Regions from separate parts of the Homo sapiens genome. Here regions 2 and 3 are each linked to region 1. The links are contacts of gene promoters, found by promoter capture Hi-C in blood cells and fetal thymus (Javierre and others, 2016). All regions are on one chromosome and are shown on one strand. The core of a region is centred on a gene start or on the middle of the fragment in contact, and the rest is flanking DNA. Distances in the headings are between cores, read along the strand shown. Region 1 holds the start of FMO2 (flavin containing dimethylaniline monoxygenase 2). Region 2 overlaps KIFAP3 (kinesin associated protein 3). Region 3 overlaps KIFAP3 (kinesin associated protein 3).

Region 1 (3,093 bases), core at 274-2,773:
CTACTACCTATTGAGAGGTTGTGGGAAGGAATAATTGTAACTCCTTATAGCTATCTATGCAACTTTCTAAGTTTTATACAAATTTTTAAGGACAGTGACATGGTTTGGCTTTGTGTCCCCATCCAAATCTCATATTGAATTGTAGTTCCCACAATCCCCACATGTCTTGGGAAGGACCTGGTGGGGGTAGGTAATTGAATCAAGGGGGCAGCTACCCTCATGCTGTTCTCATGATAGTGAGTGCGTTCTAATGAGATCTGATGGTTTTATAAGGGGCTTTTCCCCCTTTGCTCAGCACCTCTCTTTCCCACTGCCATGATTGTAAATTTTCTGAGTCCTCCCCAGCATTGTGGAACTGGGAGTCAATTAAACCTCTTTCCTTTATAAATCACCCAGTCTCAGTATTTCTTCATAGCAGCATGAGAATGGACTAATACAGACAAATAGCATTATCAATATTTTGGTTTGATTAATAGAATAAATTTAATAAAACATATTTAACAAAGAGTTTCACAGCAGTTATACTAGAATGTCATTGATAAAGCTCAGTAAACAAACATGCTTCATTTGTCAGAGAAAAATAGTAATGATAAGAGCATGGTCTCTAAAGAAGCATTTGGTTTAATAATTGAAACAGAAGTGATATCTTGAGAAGAATCCCTGTTACTTCTATTTTTGTAAAATGTTCTCTAATATTAGCGTATTAAAGAATGACAGAAGTATGGGCTGTAAGACAATTGCTGAATCCAAAAGAAGAGATCTTTTACATGCCTGGGTCAGCTACCTGGGTTGGGTTAGTATTGACTGGGGGAGAGATGCCAGCCTATGACTTCAGTTCCATTATGGCCACATCAATAAGTAGAAATAAAATCTGATCAGAGTTGTTTAATAAATTTCTCAATATGACCCATCAGTAACTGTGATTCACCCTGAAATAACAACACAACCTGTTCAAGACCCAAGAAAATCTCACTTACTTTGAACCTCCACACTCCTCCAATATCTTCAGTTCTCTCAAAGCAAGTGGGCTCAAGTCCCTCATCCACACAGCACTTCAGAGAAATTAGGCCACTGACCCCAGCTCCAATCACAGCTACCTTCTTTGCCATCAGCTCCTGTCAAGGAGTTGATCAATCAACATTACTTAACTGGGACAACCGGTAAGAGAATCCTTATGATGTGCTCAGGTAATTGGCTTTAAACATTGTAGCAGTGGTAATTTAATAAGCAGCACTATTGAATAAAGAGCCAGTCAAAAATCCTGCTCTCTTCTTGCCTTTGAGAAAAGCTGAGTTTCTTATGGACTTTGTTGCAAACCTTGCTTACATCTAGCTTTAATATTTAAAAGCGACCCATTGAACAAAGCCAGACTATGCAGTAACATACTAGGGATGTGAGCCAAATTTCCAGCTAGAGTTCTGAGCTTTTCCTTTTCAGCTTCTTTCCCCAGCGATCATCCTTACCTTTGTTTTTGCCTTTTGGCACCGTCTCTTTGACAGAATAGTTTTCTCCCTTGGTTGTGTGCTGGGAGGCAGTTGGAAGCGTTTTTAAGAGTTGGAGGTGGCTGTGAGAAATGGGAGGAGTTCCGTATTCCTCCAGCATTCTTCCAGCTGAAACTCCAAAGACTTAGTTAGGAGTCCTAGAATTAGGCAAGAGGCTCGTGCTCTGAGGTCAACAGTAGTAATGCAATGTCTTTACAGTAACAGCATATACTCTTACATAGTAGCAACATATACTCTTAAACATACAGATAGTTTAAAAATCCTTTTTATAATGATGTAATAAATATTCATTCACAAATGAACATATAGGGATAAATAACAAGGTTAAGATTACTCCTCACCACCCAGAGGTAACTGCTGTTGACATTTTGGTATATCCTTCCACCTATTTGTAGATACATACACACAAACAGAAATGGAATAGTCTAATTTCCAACTTGATTTTTTAACTTTCTAGTATATCAATATTGTGTACCTATAGCAGCATTTTTCATGGTTGCATGAATCTCATTTAGTTGATGGTTTAATTATCTAACAAATATTCAGTTCTTGCAGTTAAGCACTATTTCTGGCAGATTACCATGCCTGGATGAACAAGACAGATTATGTTCCTGATCTTATGGAATTCACATTTGTGTTCTGGCTTAGTTTTCATAGACTTGATGATTTCTGGGTCCTAGCATACTGTGTTCATCTTTTCCCAGATTGCTCACCCTGTCCAGGCTCATATCTTATTTTGATTTTTCTGCCTATGTGTATGGTGGCTTGGATGAACCTAGTGGGACTTCTAAGATCTTTCTATCCACTGCTGTCTTTTTGCCTTGATATAGAACTGGATAATTACCTCTGCTAATAATTTCAGTTATTAGGGTTAACATTTATTAGCAGACTAACTTAGGAGACTAGCAAGCCCTCGTGTACCTTAGATAGAGTCTAACTGATGAGGTAAAGAACTTTATTCTCCAACCCCAAAAGACCAGTTTCTCTAAGGAGTCTGAGACGTTTTACATAAACTTATTCAATAAATATTTACTGAACACTTCCTAGGTGCCAGAAACTTTCTAAGTGATGCAGGTACAGCAATGAATAAAAGAGGCAAAACTCTCTGCCTTTGTGGAGTTTACTTTGTAGTTGAGGGAGCCAGACAGCCCATCAATAAAATAAAACAAGTGGTGATGACCACTATGGAGAAAAAGAAAACTGGAAAGGGAGGTCTGGAGTGCAAGAGTGAAGAGTTGTTTTATAATGTCAAATAAGGTGTTCTAGAAAAACGTTTTCCCTGAAATTTCCTAAAATAAATTGGTCGTGATAAAAGGCCTTCTCTGTGTAATAAGTGCAGCAACTCTATGACAAGACTAACAGATATAACAAAAGTGATGATCAATGACTAAGGAACAAAAGAGCTGAACACATTTCTCAGTTAAAATGAAAAAAGGCCAGGCACAGTGGCTCATGCCTGTAATCCCAGCAGTTTGGGAGGCCAGGGTAGGGTATTGCTAGGAGTTCAAGGTCAGACTGGGCAACATAGTGAGACTTCATCTCTGCAAAAAACAAAAAATCAGTCAGGCATGGCAGCATGCACTTGTAGTCT
Region 2 (2,791 bases), core at 32-2,531, 1.2 Mb after region 1:
AAAATAAGGGAGAGAAATAGAGCATGTCATCTTTTATTTCCTTTAAATATGAGTGTAATGATATTGAGCTTACTCCTTAACTCAGGGATATTTTCTAATTTAAGGTAGATTTAATCTAGCCTATTGTTGTCTTGATTGATTTAACAATGTAATTTAACTATTTATGAACAGTTGTTAGATTTCTTATATTAGAAATATTAGATATTTTTTCTAAGATATTTGTTTTTTAAGAAACAGCTAAAACCTAGGGCCTACAGGTTTTCAAATGTAATTTTAAATGTAATATTAATTCCCATAATCTCCATATTGCCCATAGTCTTTACAGATGTGCTATTACAAATAGCTTACTCCTCAGATATGAGCCATATGGGCTCTGTAAACTGATTTGCACTTATTCTGAATAGGAATTATACAGATTGTAGATGAATTATTAAGTAAATTTATATTACCAAATAAATCTAAGAATAAAATATTAAGCTGTATTAAATGAGAAAGGAATCTGCAAATGAAGACCTACCTGCGTTAATAAGTTTAGTGGTTACCTTCTTGGTTTCAATCAAAAGAAATTAGTTTTTTGTTGTTGTGTTTTTTAAAGGGGTGGGGGGGGGCGTCTTTAAAACTGCTTACGGAAGTATCTAAGACAAAAACAAGGAAATATAATGTTATAAACTCAGCCAGTCCAAACCACTTGAACTGCTATGACAGCTCATAAAACTGAGAGTAGTTTTTAACTGGGCTCTGTTCTACATTGCCAAAGTGAATTTTCCTTGCAGGAAGTAGCCAGAGGGTTTATTTAGTTTCCAGTCCATGGCTTTGATCTTTCTGTACTGTCACATCTTGGGTTACATAGCCCTTTTTCACTGCAGTAAATCTGCAGCAGTTAATGAGAATAAAATTTCCTCCTTACTGATCACATTCTGTTGAATGCCAAACCACAGCCAACTGCATATTTGCAGAATTTCAGCTACAATGTATGAAAACAGCACAATCAGTTTAATCTTGTTTTCTTTGCAATTCATTTTATTGGGCTTTCTTCCTTTTCAAGTGACCTACTTTATCCAGTCAAGTGGTTGCAGGCCAAACTTGGAAGAAAGATTTAAAATGTGAATAAACTAAGAGGAGAAGGTGTGCAGGAGGTGGGCCAGGGGAGGGCAAGTGGAAGTCCGTCTGCACTGCCGTGAAGATTCCAAGACTCCATAAATTGAGTTTATTTTAATCCTTTTTAAAGACCAAGCCTTTTTTTCTTTTTTCTCCTCAAATAAAATAAAATGGTTTGTTATTTCTTTAGTTATTTTGTATGTTTAGTTTCAACATAAGTTTGTACTTACTGAGTTTATTTAATGAGTCATAACATTATTTTTCAGTTTTCATTATAGAGAAGACACCACAGTACTTAAGGAAATTTAAGGGAATTTCAAGGATTTCAAAAAATTGAAGTTTCACTTTATAAGAGCTCTTCTTAGAGTAAAAATAACATTGTTGTTAACACACACTATACCATCTTATCAAATGGGTCCTTACAAACATAAAGGAAATACTATGAATATGTTGAATAAATCAATAGAATTTCAAAATCACATTTAAGCAAGCTGAATTTTATACATTAATATGTGCATCCTCATAGTAAAGTACATAAAGAATCATATTTATTTTCTTTTTTGTTACAATGAAACCTCTCAATTGAGGCATTAATTACCTGATTCAGTTAATACAGGTTAAATATATTTTTTACTTACACCTCTTATCTTTTCTACTGCTTTGTTTTTGTGGTTGGCAACTGGAAGTTAGCAACTTCTTTGTCAAGAAATTCACCCTCAGGGGGCCATCTTGGGTGATAGTCATTGATAAATATATTTTATTGTATATTTATATTAGGTCAAATTTATATATGGAAATATGAAATTTTATAAAATAAATCAAAAAAGGAAATCAGCTTATATTTTCCCAGAAGATTGAAGTCACAGTTACTGTTTAGCCATCTAATTTCACAGAAAAAATTATTCTCATCCTCATAAAAATCAAAATGTTGAGATAAAGAAAAAATATGTAATATTTATTGATTTAGACAACTACCATAAAAGCAATAACCAAAAGTGTATTGAGAACTCAGAAGACTGTTTCTGAATTGGGGACAGTAAAGTCAGATCTCCTGATAAAAAGAGGATCCACTTTTGGGGAAATGCCTGTTGTTAGTTACCCCAATACAAGAGGAGGGTAAGAGGAGTGGTTTGAACATTTTAAAGGAAAGAGGTGCAGCACTCACAGGGCCTTTTCAGAAGGTATTAGGTATAATGTTAGAATGTTGAACTTTCAAAATGTAGCTTATACTCTTAGAATTGTTTTCAAATAGACCTATGTCTACTTAAATTGTAACATAATAGTTTGCATGTGAAAAAAAGATGAAGATGAAAACAGAATTTTAGACTTTATCTGAGGGCCTTTTCTATAGTTTGCTTCTTCGTTTCTTTGCAACTTTAAATCTGCCCAAAATTCTAACCTTGCAAGTCCACAGAAAGTTTCTTCATGAAGTAAACATTGTTTTCTTCAGTTTTTGTTGTCTTTAAACACACACACACACACACACACACACACACACACACACACACATAATTCTTAAACAAGTGCAACTGCTCAAAAGAATTTGTTTTGGGGACATGAACAGTCCAGTAGAGTTTTAAATGAAACTGCTGGAAAGGAGTAGAAACAATGCTGACTTCAGTGACATACACAATCTTTATTCTAATTGTATTATTTTAAATGGTATTCTCTAAATCAGGGGTCCCCAACTCCC
Region 3 (2,943 bases), core at 5-2,504, 1.3 Mb after region 1:
AACATTTTAATAGTTACTTCTAAAGTGTGTCAACTTAATCTCACTCTGAGTGTGACAGGGAGTTAGTGCCTATGTGAATATATTTTTTCATCACATTCAGTTTTTGCTATTGAGGGAAAATTATCTTTCCATCTCATGTAGTGCAAACTTAAATCTTAAATCATTTAAATATGTTTTATTTTTCCAAAGCTTACATTTCTGCATTACAAATGGTGTCCATTGATTGGAAGTCAAGCTCACTAGCATTCACTGCATGAGCTATGCATGAGCATGTTAAGGCCACCATGTTCTGCCTGGCAAAATAAATACTTTATCATTTTCCTAAGTGTTGGATAATTCCCTGACCTTTAAAAAGGACTTTGGAGAACAGATTTTCCTCTAAATAATGTATTAATAGACCAACAAGTAATTTTTTTAAAATAATAATCATGAAGTTTAACATACTTCAAGCTATCTTTACAACTCTGAAGGTTATCTTTGGGTTTCTGTTATTCCCATAGAATAAGTTGAACCAAAATTTGTAATTGTCTTGCTGTCACTCAAAAGAAATAGATATGTTTTGTAATTGTTTGCATTGAGGAATCAGAGGAAGGATTTGCAGATCAAATCTGACTAATTTTCAAATTTTGTCAAATTCCTTATCTTGTTCTTTTAATCATAGGCTTATGGTATGATTTGGCCCTGCATGAGAGTTCACTGATATAACTCAAACACATGTTTTTACTAAAAGTGGAATTAGTCCTGTATCTTCATATGAAAAGACATTATAAACAGCAAAACTCACTTTACTACAGTTTTATTTTTATCATTCCCTAGCAATATATTACTGATCATTGCTAGCATGTAAAATCTTTTCATATTTTTGCTTAAGAGCCATATATAAGTAATTTATTAAATAAAACTTTTCTGATTTGATTCTTCCACTTTGTTTCAAATAGTACCTACTGACAGAGGTTTCCCATACTTTTAACACACATTGTTAGAAGTATTTTATTATATACACTTTTAATGGCTCTATTAACCTTAAAAAAAAAAGTTAATGATATCCACCTAAATCACTATCCCTGCTAGGAAGAGAATCTTGGTGGTATAAAAATGTAGGCCTCTTAATCTGCATTGTGGATGTGTGATGAAAAACATAGCTTATCATTCTTTTTTTTCTTTTTTAGCCTTGGAATGGATGGCTTTGGCCAACCAGTTGGCATTCTTGGACGCCCTGCCACAGCATATGGATTCCGCCCTGATGAACCTTACTACTATGGCTATGGATCTTGATAAAGTATCTGTTTCCATGTGTAATCTCAGCTTAGAAGAAATCTGTGTGGGTTGGGTTAATTTTGGATCTTTGCCTAATAATGCATGTTGATGTTATTGTGGGTCTGTGTTTGTTTTTATTTTTATATGTTGTTAGCTGCAGATTAACCCCAGCCCCTCTGTCTTCTGTTAAGTACAGTTGATACTGACATTGTTCACTCATCAAACCACATCTTGATGCTAAGTAACATTTCCCATGAGCCACAAAACTGAATGCTGAAAAGCTACTAGACTGGAAAACAAACACTGCATTATGTATGTTAAGTGACTAATTTAATTTCAATTAAAAAGCGTAAAGTGAAAATGAATAAGTGAAAGTCATGTGTTTATATTTCACACATTTCACTACGAATTACATGTTAATATAGGGTGCGCGTGAATTTTATTTTTTCTCCTTTTTTTCTGCTTGTAAACTCTTGAGTAATTTGTATAATATATGCTACCTTTAAAATTTATAAAAAGAACATCACCTTCATATTCCATGCCATGTGCCTGAAAGTTTCCTTCCCAAAGTTTATTAACTATGAGTTTTCAATTAATAATGGAACATATGTCATAAGTTATTTATGGTTATAGTCTCTTTGGTGGTTTTAATTCATATCTTCCTAGTTGTAATATAGAAATCCTAGGACAAGTAGTATACAAGACAAGCAGTGATACAAGATTAGCATTTGGCTTTTAACTTTTATTCTTCATAAATTTAGTATCTAAAGCATGGGAAAGCTAATTAAAAGTCGCATTAAGGAAAACTAAGGAACAGAATATTTCACTCACTTGGGTACCCAGTTCCCAATTGTTCACTTGTTCTTATAACGTACATTTAGATAGCAAGAAATGGAGAGACATTATATAATTCATAATGGGTTTTGAAAATAGTTCAGTGTTTTCATATTAAAAAAATGTTCAATTCTACTTGAAAAGCTGAGCAAAGAAATAACCATAATAATAACTATAATCAGAGATAGTTCCATGATCACCTGCTATGGGAGAAAATATGAAGCTTCAAAGGGAATACATAGATCAAAGATAAGACTTCTGTTCTTGAATTTAAAATCTCATTGATCTAACTACACTATTTATGTGGCTTAAATTACATTTTAAGCAGAAGATAACATTTGGAAAAGGCCTTTGAAATAACTCATTCCATCTACTTATTTAAGAAACCAATCACATAAAAAATTTAAATGTAATCAACAGATATTTTCCTGACTACCTGCTATGTGTAAGGAAGTATATGATGCCCCTTAGGAGATGTAAATCTGAGGTATGTTTATGCCTTTGATCTTTCTGAAAACATACATTTATTTGTCTTAGTTTCTATTTTAACCATAAAATATTAAAGCTGGAAAAGGCCTTAGAAGCAACCCTGTCCAACTCTAATTTTTGCAGTCAAAAAAACTGGCCAGGAGAGGTTAAGTGACTTAGTCAATGACATAGGCTGTCTCTTTGCTTCCTATTCAGCAATCTCAATACTAAATAGCTTGTTTTATTATTTATCATGTGTACAAAGTATAAATACACATAAGTGACATTAATAGGAAAATGATGCAAACATCCTATAGCTTTAACTTCCCTCATGTTGTTATAAACTGCATTAGGAAGAACACCCGCCAAAATTGATAAAATTCC

The links. Contacts are between HindIII fragments. The CHiCAGO score rates a contact against its expected background, and 5 or more counts as called.
Region 2: a contact is called between a fragment that was not itself captured here and the fragment with the promoter of FMO2 in region 1, in 1 of 17 cell types (M1 macrophages). The highest score is 5.0, in M1 macrophages.
Region 3: a fragment that was not itself captured here is called in contact with the fragment with the promoter of FMO2 in region 1 in 7 of 17 cell types (M2 macrophages, naive CD8 T cells, M1 macrophages and 4 more); the score reaches 10.9 in M2 macrophages.

Annotation. Positions count from the first base shown.
Region 1 is chr1:171,183,730-171,186,822 of GRCh38, reverse strand. It overlaps FMO2 (flavin containing dimethylaniline monoxygenase 2), which reads right to left and starts at 1,523. Exons shown (of 9, transcript NM_001460.5): 1 at 1,464-1,523; 2 at 978-1,115. The coding sequence starts at 1,109. The region is part of intron 2 of FMO1-AS1 (FMO1 antisense RNA 1); the gene reads left to right. The HindIII fragment of the contact is 15,337 bases long and covers 1-3,093 here.
Region 2 is chr1:169,940,728-169,943,518 of GRCh38, reverse strand. All of the region lies in intron 19 of KIFAP3 (kinesin associated protein 3), which reads left to right. Among named protein-coding and RNA genes, the nearest start is that of SCYL3, 48 kb to the right of the region's middle. RefSeq lists an enhancer at 1-2,264. The HindIII fragment of the contact is 5,755 bases long and covers 1-2,791 here.
Region 3 is chr1:169,920,008-169,922,950 of GRCh38, reverse strand. KIFAP3 (kinesin associated protein 3) reads left to right here. Exons shown (of 20, transcript NM_014970.4): 20 at 1,170-1,622. The coding sequence ends at 1,275. Among named protein-coding and RNA genes, the nearest start is that of SCYL3, 28 kb to the right of the region's middle. The HindIII fragment of the contact is 2,125 bases long and covers 192-2,316 here.